3 separate regions of the Homo sapiens genome follow, and all the other regions are linked to region 1. The links are contacts of gene promoters, found by promoter capture Hi-C in human tissues and cell types (Jung and others, 2019). All regions are on one chromosome and are shown on one strand. Each heading gives the region's core, a stretch centred on a gene start or on the middle of the fragment in contact. The rest is flanking DNA. Distances are from core to core; before and after follow the strand shown. Region 1 holds the start of SPRY2 (sprouty RTK signaling antagonist 2). Region 2 overlaps NDFIP2 (Nedd4 family interacting protein 2). Region 3 has its middle 32 kb from the start of LINC01068.

The links. Contacts are between HindIII fragments. The study calls those that stand out against the background at their distance.
Region 2: a contact is called between a fragment that was not itself captured here and the fragment with the promoter of SPRY2 in region 1, in 1 of the 25 tissues and cell types used here (lymphoblastoid cells).
Region 3: a contact is called between a fragment that was not itself captured here and the fragment with the promoter of SPRY2 in region 1, in 1 of the 25 tissues and cell types used here (dorsolateral prefrontal cortex).

The regions. Positions count from the first base shown.
Region 1 is chr13:80,338,348-80,343,432 of GRCh38, forward strand. SPRY2 (sprouty RTK signaling antagonist 2) reads right to left here and starts at 2,779. Exons shown (of 2, transcript NM_005842.4): 1 at 2,275-2,779. RefSeq lists enhancers at 583-632, 4,603-5,085 and silencers at 2,727-2,916, 3,147-3,196, 4,596-4,785. The HindIII fragment of the contact is 11,668 bases long and covers 1-5,085 here.
Region 2 is chr13:79,532,140-79,537,224 of GRCh38, forward strand. NDFIP2 (Nedd4 family interacting protein 2) reads left to right here. Exons shown (of 8, transcript NM_019080.3): 3 at 1,184-1,317. Among named protein-coding and RNA genes, the nearest start is that of LINC01068, 32 kb to the right of the region's middle. The HindIII fragment of the contact is 7,080 bases long and covers 1-5,085 here.
Region 3 is chr13:79,596,295-79,601,379 of GRCh38, forward strand. No RefSeq gene overlaps it. Among named protein-coding and RNA genes, the nearest start is that of LINC01068, 32 kb to the left of the region's middle. The HindIII fragment of the contact is 7,169 bases long and covers 1-5,085 here.

The DNA.
Region 1 (5,085 bases), core at 1,529-4,028:
AATTGTATAGTAGCACAAAGTTATAGAACTAAAAGCAAATCAAATCCTATTAGGTGCCAGAAACACATTAAAGCAAACTTAACAAGAAGAAGACATGAATTTATTTTCAACTTCTCAACAACTTAAGAATTAACTATTTTACAGTCTGATAGCCTAGAACACCACCTTAGATTCTGCAGCTAAAAGGTTGTTCTCCCTGCTAATTGAGAACACAAACGAAGTGATAATAACCAGAAAAGCGTTTTAAAAATTCAAATGTCACATTTCGTATCTAGCATTCTGTCAAGGAATTCCTTAAACTGCAGTCCTTCTTCAATTTCAAAACGATCACCCCCTTTCCCAAGCCTATATGACAATAAAAAGTATAAAACAGGCAAAAGTGGACCTTTATCCGATCTCCGCTCTTTAGAATAGAGGCCACAGCGAACAAGGCAGGTGACAAACGTCTCCCAATTCGGAGCAAGGCAGTGCTGGAAACCGGATCTCCTCACCTCCAAAAGAATGGCAGAAGACAACGCTGCTCTTTGCTTTCACTTAGTTTATCGCCTCTCTGTGCCCCAACACCGTCCCCAGCAGGTGGGACACAGCCGATCCCCAGGGGAGTTTCTCCAGGCGGACTGACGCTGTCCATGGGCCAGGCTGCCCCCCTGCTTACGATCCCCAGACTCAGACAGGCGGGGGCCGCGGGCGCCTCCGAAGGGTACGTGTCACGAAATGCAGGAGCACACTTCCCCCGCCTCCCTCTCCCCAGCTAAGATCTCCCCCAACTCAAGAGAACTGCCTTCCAGCCCCAAGGAGCCACTCCGCCCCCAGGCAGAGGTCACGCCGCCCACTGCCAGGCTTTCTGCAAAGCCCCTCGGACATCCGGCACAGGTTTCCCACCCCGACACTGCGAGCACGAAAGCCCTGCCTGAGACACGCAGCCAGGACGCACAAGTCCAACCCACGCACACACGGCGACTCCACGCTGCACTGACCGAAGGGGGCATTGCCTGTAATCTGCACACGCCTATCTCCTTTTGGGTCGAGAGAAAAAAAAAAGATATCATATTTCTTAAAGTGAAAGAAAAATGGCTTTTTAAAAAAAGGGCATTTTCCAGGGTCCCACTGCTCACTCCGGGCGCGCAGGACCCAGCTCCCGGAGCTGTAAACTTTCGGTGCAGATTTGCTTGCAGTCAAAGTAGCATCTTTGAAATAAAAGGGGGCTTTTTTGTTTTTATTTTTTAAGTGATTTCTGCCGATCCGATCCCTGGCCTCCTTCTTCAAAGCTGGACTCCCTACCTCCGCCCCTCTTCTCTTTCCCAGTCCCCCCTCCCCTTTGAAAGTGCTTTGAAACCCCCATTAAGAACAGTGTGTGATCAGACTGAGGATTAGGGGAAAAGAACTTCAGCTCTAGGGTGGGGCAAACGGACACAGAAACTGCTTTGTAAAAAACACACAAGAATCCAAATTAAAACACAGCAACAACAACAACAAAAGGAAATAAAAAATTGCCTATTTTGCCACCTACTTTCAGGTAATGGAAAATGATCGCGACCGCTTGATGACTTTCTTCCTGCGCTGGGTCAGCCCGAGCTTCCAAAAATAAAATAAGTGTGACCCAGGCTGACCACGAAGAACGGAAGAGAGAGAGCTGCACTTCCGAACCGCAGAGACCCGGCGCCAGGCAGGGCGACGCTCCCACCCGCTCCGGGCTAGACTGTCCACACGGAGCAGAGGCGGGCACTCCCTCCACCCGGCACCCTGCCTTTTTCTCACCCTGGAAGTCTCCTGCCCCCGAGGCGGGCAACCTGTGTCCCCCAGCCCCACCAGCGCCCCGCCTAGGGACAGCCTCTCCCTGGACTTTGCCTTCCACCAAGAGGAAGAACAGGTTAGAAATGCGGGCGCCTGCAAAGGCAACCTGGAAAATACAAAGTGTTTTTCTCTCCCTCTCCCGCTCTCAGCGCCGAATTCGCGGCCAGTGCACGGCTGGGAGCAGACTTCAGGCTAGCTGTCCTCCGTCCCAACCCCCTAGAGCGCGGGCGCGCGGGGTCGCCTGTCGGGGACACTGCACGGGGTGCATACAGAAGTCCCCGCAGAGGCAGGCCGAGCCCAAGCCCCGGGCGAGGCAGGTCCGCGGGGAGCGCCCCGGATCCTCGCGAAGACCCTGCGGGATTTGAGAAAGGGAGGCTCGGGGAGAGACGGACCCAACTCCTGGTCCGGCTGCACCTACTCCATGTTGCCCACAACGCGCCGGCCGCGGCGCCAGGAGGGGAAGAGCCAAACGTGCCTCACCGTGATCGCGGCTTTGCACCAACCCCTCTCCCTTGGATTCTCTTCTTTCTGCGATGTGCAAATAAATCCAGTCTCGATGCAAACTTTTTTCCTTTCTTTCCAACCTCTGCTTTAGACCAACTTCCGAGCAATCGGCGGGAGAAAAAAAGAGAATTCGGAGCCAGATTCCCCGCTGATGAACACTCCGGGGTTCGGAGCTGGAGACGACTCCCCTTCTACAAGCGCACGCGGAGTATTTCCTCTTTTTTCTCAATGAACAAGAGGCCGAAGCGCCAACGGCAAGTCCCTTTTCCTGGCAGATGAGCGAATGGGAAAAGAAAACGGCCTTACGGAGAACCTAAAGCCAGATCGCCAAGTGGTGCGGCCGGGGCCGCGTCGTAGCGGAGGCGGCGCGGGGGCGCGGGCCGGGCCGGGCCGGGCGGGCGCGGGGGCCTGGGCGCTGCGCGCTCCGCCGGCCCCTCTCCTCCGCTAGCGCTGCGGCGCGCAGCTCTCGGCGGTGCAGACTGGGCGTTGTGGAGGCGAGGCAGCGAGGCCGAGGCGGGGGCGGTGGGTGCGGAGGAGGAGGAAGAGGAGGAGGAGGAGGAGGAGGAGGGTCTGGGGCCCGCCCGGGGGGGGCTCGCCGTTGGCCTGCGCCCTCGCCTTTCCGGAGGAGGCAGGGAGCTCTGCGGCGGCCGCGGCAGCAGTAAATGGCGTCATGTGGATCCGAGGCGGAACAGAGCAGTTGTTGTCCCAGAGGATATATCGCATCCGGTCCCAGCTCATTGGCTCCGCGGGGCTACATTCACTCACACTCCAGCGCCCGCCAGCGCTCCGAGCCGCAGGAGGCATTCAAAAGGGCAACCGCGCCGCCCCGCGCGTCCCCAGGCCGGTCCTGCCGCCCGAGCGCCGTCACGCGGGGCGCCCGCGGGGCCGGGCTGGGCACTGCAGGGTCAGTTTATCTAGTTTCAAGGAAACACTGACCTTAAGGTTTGCCCAGAGGCAATGAGGACGAGCCAGAGGCTCGAGCTGACTTAGGGAACTTTCTCCTTGCCACCAGGAAAGGGGAATGAACATTTAAGACTAATCTGGGCCACGCAGTGTTAGCATGAAAAACAAGTTGCAGGTTTTAAGACTTTATCCAGAATCCATTTCAAGTCTACCTCTCCCCTTTTCTGTTCCCCTTTGCGGAGCGGGTGACGGGGGCTGGGGCGGGGGGAGAAGAAGGGGGAGGGGAAGGGGAGCGGGAAGTGAGGTGGGAGGGCTATTGGTTTATTCTTTGTCTACTGGATTAACCCGATTATACACCAGGCACCAGCACAAACCGCCTCCCCCACCTCCGAGCCTTGTACGGGAGGAACGGAATGCAGATTCGAGTTTCAAGTACCTTCTGCTCTTGCTGGGATTTGCTTTTGATTGTGTCGACTTGTAGTTTTTCCGTTTATTAGAATTTCATTTTTAAGGGGGGTTATCTATGAATGGAGGCTTTTTGAAGAGCTTCCTTACTATTTTGCTTCATGCAGTAGCTAAAGTCTACAGTCTAAGCCTTTTAACTTAATTCATTAATAGACAGGAACAAGATTACTCAGGGCGACAGCATGGGCTTCCGAAATGGGGGGGCGGGGGGGAGGGAAGGGTTGGCTCACTGCAGATTTCCTTCTTCCCTTAACTAAAAGTCATCCTTCATTTCCCACTTTTCTTGCCACCTAGAACATTTCTCAAGATTCTGTTGTCCATGTTGAAGGTGCACTATTCTTTCCCATTTACAAAAAAAAAATAAAGATAGAAAATGCATACATATGCACTGTCCTAGCTGCCGTTCATTTACTAAGAAATGTGCCTTCACGTGGGAGCACCAGTGGAAAATTAAAACTTGCGCATACACACGCCTAATATTGCATTCTGTCGAGCGACTTACAGAATGCTTTTACTTTACAGGGAAGTACCTGCTTGTACGGTCAAAATTCCCGAATAGCACCTGCGATCTTGCCCCATGCGGGGTGTTCTTGAAAGCAGTGTTAGGAAAACATGGTGCTTCACTCGTCCAGCTTTAACCCAATCCATTTGCAGCTACCCTGGAACTAGCTGCCTTCTTCTGAGCTCCTGCTCTAGAATGTCCCCAGCGCGCTCTCTGCCTCGCTGCGGTCTCACCCTGACTTCTCCATGTTTCTCTAGGGCTCTCCTCTTTCTCTAGGGATTTGGAACCAGAGATGGCAAGGGAAGTGGCATGCGTTATTTCCGGGCGCTGGCCTACGTCCCCCGACCCCTAAGGTGAGGGTGGACGAGGCTACAACGGCCTGCTCCCGAGCGTCCCGGGACTGCGGGCGCAAAACAGCTGGGCCTCTCTGGCCACAGCCGCTCGCCGGACGCCCGAATCCATTGAGCCGACGGTGAACGCAGGCGCCGCTGCGCTCGCGGCCCCTCTGGCCACCAGGGGGCGCCCGCCCGGCGCGGGGCTAAGGCTGCTTTCTTCTCCGGGACACGACGCGGACAGGCTGGGTTACCTTCCAAAACGTGTGTGCATTAGGCCGGCTGGTTTAAAATGAATACAAAGATATTAATATAAACGACACAGAAGATAGCTTGCCCTCCTGTCTGCTTGGGAGGGTCAAAGCCTGGGTGTGCAAGGCTAGGCAGGAACGTGCTGCCGGTGTGCGGCCAGCAAGTCTCTCGAGCAGAGCAGGTGAAAGCAACGCCGTCGCTTCGCCTCTTCAAACTCCTGCACTCGATGGCGGCTTTTTAGGAGACATCTGTGCCTTGCTGGTCTCCCAGCGCTGCAGGAACTTTGCGAAGATACATCGTTAGGGATCAAAGCATGCAATGGAATTTAGATCA
Region 2 (5,085 bases), core at 1,343-3,842, 810 kb before region 1:
TAGTGGCACTGGAAACATTTGAAATATTGCTAGAAGTACTGGGACAGAGACACAGAGTGAGCACATGCTCTTGGAAAAATGGTGCTGATACACTTGTTCAATGTGGAATTGCCGCCGCAAACCTTCAGTTTGTAAGAAACACAGTATTTGCAAAATGCACAAAAGCAAAGTGTATAAAACCAGGTATGCTTATATAAAACTACTGTTGTTATAATGGAGGAAAATACAAAAGTGATGTCAAACAGTGTGGTGTATGCTACTTTTAGAACCTCCCTTTTTTGTGTGTGTGTCAGTGACTCTAGCATAAGTCTAATGAGTTGATTGACCTGTATAGCACTTTACTTTATTACTTATGTTGTAATAAGTGATGGGTTTTATTTTTAAAATAAGCAGTCTGTATTTTCTATTGTAATGTATTTCTGGAGATTATATTTCAAAAATTGGGGTGAGAAATACTTATAAAAGGAAATCTAAAGAACTAGCTGGATAAAGGAAAAATGGGAAGAGAAAGGGACAAGAGTGGAAAAGTAAAACTTCAATCTTTTAGCAAAGGGAAATACTGAATTTGCTTAAGAGATTAGAGCCGTTGCTGAAATCAAGATGTGTAAAAAAATTACCCCTTGTATGTTATCGGAGCAAAGTATTTGGGGTCAGGAGCTTCCTGTGTCTGCCACTTAAATGTTTAATATTGTGCAAGTAACTTAACTTTCCTGAACCTCAGAGATGCTAAGATCAATGTATACAGAAGTGGTATATGAAATGGTTAGTATTATGTAAATGTTTGTTATTATTACTTTTTCTTTTTGCTTTTTTGGCTGTGAGATAGTGGGCAAGTAAACTAAGTTCTTTGTGCATACTAATAAGCACATAGAGAATACTCATATATTATGAGATTCTTACTTCTCTTGTCTGGCACTCTTTTTCAGAATTTCATTCTAGAGGTTCTTGTTTAGTGTATTAGCCTTTAAACGGTATTTATCCATTCTTTCTCTTTATAATAAATTTGGACTAAAGTAAGATATATGATTGTAATAGTAATTTATATATTTTATAGCTTATAACATAGGCCTATAATAGCAATAGTAGTCCTGTATTGGTGGCCAGTTGTAAATTATTAAGTCATGGCTATGGCTACAAAATTAAATAGATTTTATTGGTTATTCTTTTTGAATTCTTTCTTCAGATACAGAAGTTTACGGTGAGTTTTATCCCGTGCCACCTCCCTATAGCGTTGCTACCTCTCTTCCTACATACGATGAAGCTGAGAAGGCTAAAGCTGCTGCAATGGCAGCTGCAGCAGCAGAAACATCTCAAAGAGTAAGAAAATTTCATCATTTCTTTTGATAAAATTATTTTCGTTAATTGATATATACATTTAGTAATACTAAAAACAGTTCTTTGTGTGTAAGTGTGTATGTAGATTTTTTTTGAGCATTATGGGTTTAAACTGCACAGGTCTACTTGTATGCAGATTGTTTTAAATAAATATATTGGAAAAATATTTTGGAGATCTGCAGCAATTTGAAAAAACTTGGGACAAATTGCATAGCCTAGAAATATCAAAAAAATTAAGAAAAGGCCTGTAATGAATGTATAAAATACATGTAAATAGTAGTTTATGTATTATCGACTGTTTATGTTATCAGTAAGGCTTCTAGTTAACAATAGGCTGTGAGTCGTTAAGTTTTGGGGAAGTCAGAGTTATACTCAAATTTTCTACCGCATGCAGGTGGGTCGGTGTCCCTAACCCGTGTATTGTTGAAGGGTTACTGTATTTGTTCTACTGTTGCTTATGTGTGTGGTCACTTTTTGTTGAAATTGGCATTCTCCTAGTTAAATTCACCTTCTTTATCCCTTGACTTCCTCTTTTCTATTGCTCTTCCCCGCTTATCCCTTCCTAAATTTTGATTTCAGGCCCCTCATGTGTTAGCCTTCACTTCGCATCCTAACTCACTCACTCTGGTTACCACCACTTGGAAAGTTCTTCTCTTTGCCTGGACCTCAAGTCCACTGACCTCTTTGCTGTCCATGTACTTATTTATCTTCTTACATAGTTTGAATTCCATGGCCTATCATTTTAATTGTGAATCATCTTTTTTTCTATTTATGTTTCTATATTAGCATAGCCAGTTTAGTGACTGTGAAAGAACTCAAGGTAGCCAAAAAACACAGAGAAATGTTACAAGGCCTTCAAATTATTTTTGTCAGCTGTTTTTTTTTTTTTTTTTTTTTTTGATAACATTCTACTCTAGAATTTTGGAATGATGATCAAGCATTCTGTCTTCCTCATCTACATGTTTTAGTAATGGAGTTAATGAGATACATGTGTATTACTCTTTGCTCTGGTAAATGGAGTGGCTGTCTCAGTAATGGAGAGTCAGTGAGATACATACACATCTACTATTCTGCAGCCAGGTAAGAGGCAGAAATTATTTACATTTTAGTGTGGCTGCAAGGAGGGCTAGAATTTTTTGCCTTTTTTTTCTTGCTTCAGACTTGAGAGATGCCGTTTCAGATCCCTGGATTCACCCCATTTTGTTCGGGAAAAAGACAAAAAAATCAATTCACCCAGGAAAGCTAGAATTAGGTGAGGAGTCAAGGGAGAGAGATGTGCTTCCATGTATGGCATTCTCCTCTAGCTGCTATGAGGTCAGAGCCCAGCAAGCAGATCCTCTGAGAGAAGAGCATGTGCCCTGAATGTGTTTCTTTGATCAGCAATAACCCTATTTATGCCTGCTCCTACTACCCTCTTCCAGCACACACAGGGTTAAACGTCAACATAAATAGCTTTGGACACAGTTATGAAGGTAGATAAAGACAGTAAACTCCGAATTTATTTTTTATGCCTTTTCCTTCACAGAGGAGGAAAGTAAGTCTCTTAACACAGTGGCATAATATAGCTGAGTCAATAAGAATTTTTGTTGCTTTGAGGGGAACATCACAGAGGAGGAGGATAGATCTAAATAGGGTATTTTTGTCTAAATAAGTTCTCGGTTACTTAGAACACATATATTTGTAAATGAACATGCACATCTCTCAGTGAAGTAGATTGATTCCTCTCTAGCTATGAAAGTCCCAATAACTCCTTTTCTCAGGGGGTGTTTGCCCAGAGACCTTAAGAAGTATTATGGACCGTAGATCATTTACTGCCCTAACTTCCATACAATAGGATAGAATTCTAAAGACAAGGTAGGAAGCATTAAGTCTTGGTAAGTGTGCTTTGAGAAAAGTTGATTTTACCCCTTTTGAAGAGAAAAGTCTGAAGTATTACTGTTCCATTCCCTCATTGTCATCATTTCCAGCACCCTGTTTTAGAAAGTAAATGTAATCCTCAGCCAGAATTGGAACATGTCCATAAAGAAAAGCTCCCTGTTTTTACCTGCTTCTGATATCATTGTAACCCCAGCTTGTGAGCATTGTGGAAAATTTCATAGACAGCAAAGTATTAATAGAATTGTGTACAAGAGACTAACTTAGGTCTTGTAAAAAATCTTATAAATTTACCAGTGCTTCCTAACCCGGTGCTTCAGCACCCTCTTTGTGCAGAGTATGAATGTTTGCATATGAGTCTCCATTACCTGATTGAGATGAAAAATTGGTCAATGCTTGAAAATTGCTAGGAGAGTAGATTTTAAGCGTTCTTGCACAAAAAAAATATTTGAGGTACTGTACATGGTAATTAGCTCAATTTAGCCACTCCACAATGTATACACATTTTAAAACATCATGTAATACATCATAAATATATACAGTTTTTGTCAATTACAAACAAAATTTAAAAATTGAAAAAAAGTCTCATCAAATTAGCATTTGAGTACATTCAGTTGTAAATGAGTCTCAGCTGGGTGAGTTGAAAGCTTGTTTCCTAAATCAACTCTCACTGGGAGAATATAGATAGTCAAGAGACTTTAAAACTACTGTTTTTACTATTTCCTATTTCTGATGTGTAGAATTGCACGTATGTTATGGAATGGTTAAGTAGATTTCTGAAAATGACAACTCATTGTTAATATTTCTATGAAAAATGCTAATTCCAAACTATTAATTTTATAAGATGTTTAGAACATGGCTTGTTCTTCAGGTAGACTCATTTCATCTTATAATGGGTAGGGCTCTTTTTTTGTAACTTGTTTTAAATTGTTGCAGTAACTTGTCTTTTGACTAGATAAATCATGAGCAACACCAGGACAGAGATCTTGCATTTACATTCCCAGTACCTAGTTATTTATCAGGCACATTTTTGTTGTTTAGTCAATGACAGTTGATTAAGTTAATGAATGCTTTCTTTGTGTTAGCCAATGTGGGAAAATAGAAAGAGGAAAACACCACAGGTGTTCTGTTACAGCTCTCTATTTTAAAATATTTTGATGTCTTTACCAATTTCAGGATTCACAAATTAATGTTTAATGTAGTTGAAATTATTGCCTAGATACCATTTTATTTTTTAAACATCTTATATAAATATTTCCCTGTTACTTAATAGTTAAATTCCCTGTAATCAATATGCTATTGAAACTTAGTGGCCATTCCTCTAGAGTGAACAATTATTTTCAAATGTTTGTGTTTCGATTTTTTCTATTAATATTATAAAAGACATCTTTGGGCATATTGCAGTGACTCACTCCTGTAATCTCAGCACTTTGGGAGGCTGAGGCAAGCAGGTTGCTTGAGCTCAGGAGTTTGAGACCAGCCTGGGCAACACAGCGAGACCTTATTTCCACTAAAAAGAAAAAAAAAAATCAGCTAGGTGTGGTGGCATGCACCTGTAGTTCCAGCAACTTGGAAGGCTGAAGTGGGAAGATCACTTGAGCCCAGGAGATTGAGGCTGTAGTGATCCCGGATGAAGACTGCAGTGAGCCATGATTGTGCCACTGCACTCCAGCCTGGGTGAGAGTGAGATCTTGTCTTAATTTTTTTTTTTTTCCTAAATGATGACTTTTGATAAAATTTCTGTATTGATTTTTTGGTGGTGGTTGTTTTGTTTTTGAGGCGCAGTCTCACTCTGTCTCCTAGGCTGGAATGCAGTAGTGCAATCTCAGTTCAGTGCAACCTCCGCCTCCCCAGTTCAAATGATTCTCCTGCCTT
Region 3 (5,085 bases), core at 1,184-3,683, 740 kb before region 1:
ATCCCTATTTTGGATGGAGTATTAAAAAATTGTATATATTATACACACAATTTTTCTATGAGTAACAATAAAGACATTGAATAAAGGTTTGTGGGCAATAACTGAGTTAAATTCAGTGAATCAATTCTGCCGTACGTTTTAGGAAACTTCACTGAAAGGCACTTGCAGAAAGGCAAACAAACAAAATCAACAACAAAATCTAAAAATTAAAACCTCATAACCTAGGAATCATTTTGTAACATGTGTCTTCCCTATTCTCAACAAGACATCTTAAATGTAAAGCATCCCCCTTTGGTTACGTTTACGTTCAATTAGCTTATTTTTTTTTGTAATCAGTGAATACTAATCTGGTATTTAGTAGTTCCATGTAAAATACTTGTAACTCAGTTTTCCAGCAATTACTGTAGTGGCACCAGTTGGTAAATAAAAGCTTTTTAAAACTTCTCTCATGGAGTCTGATTCAGAGTGTTCGAGCAGCCTCTTGTTTTTACTTGAATTCAAATCTTCATTTAATGTATTTATTGTTCTGGTATATTACTTCTGTGAGAAGGTAGCTCATAGCTATTATTGATGGCAAGGTGTGTAATGAGAATTAGCTACCTTACGTGGTTTTGAATTATCCAAATTTTCAAACTTTAGTGTGTATAAATGTCACCTGGGCAGCTATTTAAAAGTGCAGATTCTTGAGTTTTCCCCATTTTGAGAAATGCTGACTTTGTGGATCTGGGGGTAAGGACCCAAGTATGTGTTTTAAGAAAGCAGCCCTGTTGATTCCAATGTGCTTGACTACAGACCACACTTTGAGAAGCACTGTTCTAAAATATGATGGAGCCAAGAGCTTAGTTCTATTGCTGATGGGCTTAGAATAGGAAGGTTTGAAGGATGCAGTGGAACTGCTTCCTCAATGCATAAAGTTGAATCTAGAAACAAAAATGTATAAACTATATAAACTAAGAAGAAGAAATACTTCACAGACTTGGCTTTTAATACTTTGCCAAAAGCAGGAAGAGGGAACTCTTGAATAAATTGATTTAGAAAGTGATATGGAGTAATGAGTCTTGTTGGATGTAGGACTGATAGGTTATTTTCTTCTTTACCTCAACTGTGCTGATTTAAAATGAGCTGGGCCCCATGATTACTCATGCAAATAAATAGAACAGGCTAAAATTGCTCCATGGGACTGAAATTATTCACCCAACAATTTGTACTTGTTTTTGTTTCTTTAAGTCTTCCCATAATTGTGCTACAGGGATACTTTATAAATGAAATGTTTCAAATCAGTTTTTAAACAGTTTTTAAATTTCTCCATGATAAATTGCTCATTTCCCCAGATAAATAGGTATGGGGATATTCATAGTCTGCATTAACATAGTTAGTGTAGAAAGTACTTTTAAAAATTAGGTCATATAGTTAATTGTTTCTATCTACATTTGTCTTTAGTTAATTAAGTGAGAAAATACGTGTGAAAGGACCTAACGGAATCTGGTACATGTTAAATACTTGTATCCAATTGCCCATTTAACATCTTCTCTTGCGTACCTTGCAGCATGTCAAACTCAACATAAGCTATATTGAACCATCTTTTCTGTCTCTTTTGTAAACCACCCAGTTATTCAAGCCAGAACCTTTGTTTCATCTTTTAACATCTCCTTGTTCATCTCCCCTCCAAATTCTGTTGACTTTGTAAATATGTCTTAAACCACACACTTCATTCATTCACTGCTTTTGGAATAAAGCAGTGAACCAAACAGTTTTGTCTCATACAAAGTTTTTAGGTAGGTTATGAGTGATCCTCCTCATGTCCCAAGAGCTTGGTACCTATAAAGAACAGAAAGGGTGAGTGTGCAAGAGGAACGGGGCCAGAACACAAAGAGCTCTTTAGGCCATGTTAAGAATTCTGAAATTTTATCCTAAGTACAATGGGAGAGGCTTGAAGAGTTTTGATTATGGGAGTGACACGATCAGATCTATGTTTTACAAAAATTGCTCCCTTCTATGTCTCTCCAACCCCATTTATCATAATACGAAGCCTGATCACAACATCTGACCTCAGGAGTATTACATCTGGTCTCCTTGCCTTATTCCTTTCCCAAACACATACTCCACATTGCAACCAGACAAAGGAAACAGAACAAACAAAACCCCTAGAAATCTGATTACATACTCTCCTGTTTCAAATCTTTTAATGACTTCCCAATGCCCTTAGGATAAAATCCAAATCCCTTGATAGGGTTCTGAGGCTTATGGTTAATGTTGACCTTTCTAGCCTCTTCACTCAACACTTTCCCTCTCTCACACTCCAGGTACACTGAAGTTCTTTCAGTTACCCTAACGAACTGTGGTCTCTGTCACTCAGACCTTGCTGTTCTCCATGCCTGGGCACCAACCCTGTCTAGCTCTGTTTGGGCTGGCAAATTTGCTAAGCTTCACTTGGCTCGAAGTGATTTTTTCTAACCCTTGACTATGTGAGGTCCCTGCAAATAATCTTTTCCAGTTGCAACATTGATTACATTTCTGCTAGACTTAAGCTCTACCAATGTCCTGTCCTGGTCATTTCTTCAACCACAGATCCTTGCACAGTGCCTGCCACCTGGCAGGTTCTCAGTACACATCTGCCTAATGAATGATTGAACAGTACCTATTAGCTTTCTTCTAAAGAGGTCCTTGGGAAAAGGAATACTTTTGTTCATAATGACACATCTGTTTTGAGTTTATATGACAAATATCAGTAGAGTTGAAAATAAAGGTAACTGAGTTAAAATTTAGACAGGGATGTGGGATCTGATAGATGAGGCAAATGAGAAAGGACAGACAAATGGAAAGTTATGTCTATTCTAAATGAGTGATACTAATTGTTATACACAATTTTATCGGTTGTATAAGGTTTCACTTATTCCTTTCACAATCATAATATTTGAAAAATGTTTTATATTTTATAAAATGCTTTTTATACATATGATCCTTGTATCTTAACAACCCTATACTATTATTATCCTACTATAAATTAGAAAATTGAGGCCTAGCAATTGTGTCTGGAATTGGTAGGTTCTTGGTCTCACTGACTTCAAGAATGAAGCCGCAGACCCTGGCAGTGAGTGTTACAGTTCTTAAAGGCGGCGTGTCGGAGTTTGCTCCTTCTGATGTTCAGATGTGTTTGGAGTTTCTTCCTTCTGGTGGGTTCGTGGTCTCGCTGGCTCAGGAGTGAAGCTGCAGACCTTCGCGGTGAGTGTTACAGCTCTTAAGGTGGCGCAACTGGAGTTGTTCGTTCCTCCCGGTGGGCTCGTGATCTCGCTGGCTTCAGGAGTGAAGCTGCAGACCTTCACGGTGAGTGTTACAGAGTGAGCAGCAGCGAGATTTATTGCAAAGAGCTAAAGAACAAAACTTCCACAGTGTGGAAAGGGACCCGAGCGAGTTGCCACTGCTGGTTCGGGCAGCCTGCTCTTATTCTTATCTGGCCCCACCCATGTCCTGCTGATTGGTAGAGCCCAGTGGTTTGTTTTGACAGGGTGCTGATTGGTGCGTTTACAATCCCTGAGCTAGACACAAAGGTTCTCCACGTCCCCACCAGATTAGTTAGCTACAGAGTATTGACACAAAGGTTCTCCAAGGCCCCACCAGAGTAGCTAGATACAGAGTGTCGATGGGTGCATTCACAAACCCTGAGCTAGACACAGGGTGCTGATTGGTGTGTTTACAAACCTTGAGCTAGAGACAGAGTGCCAATTGGTGTATTTACAATCCCTGAGCTAGACATAAAGGTTCTCCAAGGCCCCACCAGACTCAGGAGCCCAGCTGGCTTCACCCAGTAGATCCCGCACTGGGGCTGCAGGTGGAGCTGCCTGCCAGTCCCGTGCCATGCGCCTGCACTCCTCAGCCGTTGGGTTGTCGATGGGACTGGGCGCAGTGGAGCAGGGGATGGCGCTCGTCGAGGAGGCTCGGGCCGCACAGGAGCCCACGGAGAGGGTGGGAGGCTCAGGCATGGCGGGCTGCAGTTCCCGAGCCCTGCCCCGTGGGAAAGCAGCTAAGGCCCAGCGAGAAATTGAGCGCAGCGCCGGTGGGCTGGCACTGCTGGGAGACCCAGTACACCTTCTGCAGCCGCCAGCCCGGGTGCTAAGCCCCTCATTGCCCAGGGCCGGCAGGGCCGGCCGGCTGCTCCGAGTGCGGGGCCCGCCAAGCCCACGCCCACCCGGAACTCCAGCTGGCCCGCAAGCGCAGCGCGCAGCTCAGGTTCCCGCTCGCTCCTCTCCCTCCACACCTCCCTGCAAGCTGAGGGAGCGGGCTCCGGCCTTGGCCAGCCCAGAAAGGGGCTCCCACAGTGCAGCGGTGGGCTGAAGGGCTCCCCAAGTGCCGCCAAAGTGGGAGCCTAGGCAGAGGAGGCACAGAGAGCGAGCGTGGGCTGTGAGGACTGCCAGCACGCTGCCACCTCTCACAATGATGCAAAGTGACTCCTCAGCAGTAAGTGGCAAATTGGGACTTGAACTCATTTCCTGACTACAAATCCCACCCTCTTTAGCTATAGCACATTCCCTCTCTAAACATCTGAAAGCAAAATAATAATAATAATAAGTTATTTCTGGGCATGGTTTTATGTACAAAATTATTTAATCCATTAAAAGTTGAAAACAAATGGGAGGAAAAGATAGACAATGGGAAAATGACTGTTATGGCGAGGAATCAAACCAGTTTCTGAAATATTAGCCTGCAGAAGCAGTAACAGTAGTGCAATGGTGTGCTACACCTAACTGGGATTCTCATTAAGCAGGCTGACCACCTGAGGAAGAAGAGCCTCGTGGAGGGAGGCTTCCAGTTGCTGTCACCATTTGCGTTGAACAGTCAATCAATAGTGATGATGAGATTCTACAAGACATTTAGGCAGGCTAAAAGAAAAATAAAAGGCAGAGGTTAAAAAACAAAACAAAACAAAAATTAAGAAATAAAGCCCTGATGAAACTTCTAACCTATGGGGGAAATGGATAAGCCCTTTAAACCTCTACCAGCATAAGAATAGCTAAGACTTAATTAAGAACAGATGATTTAATGAAGCGTCTATGCCAGTGGTCCTCAACCTTGGCTGCACATTAGAAT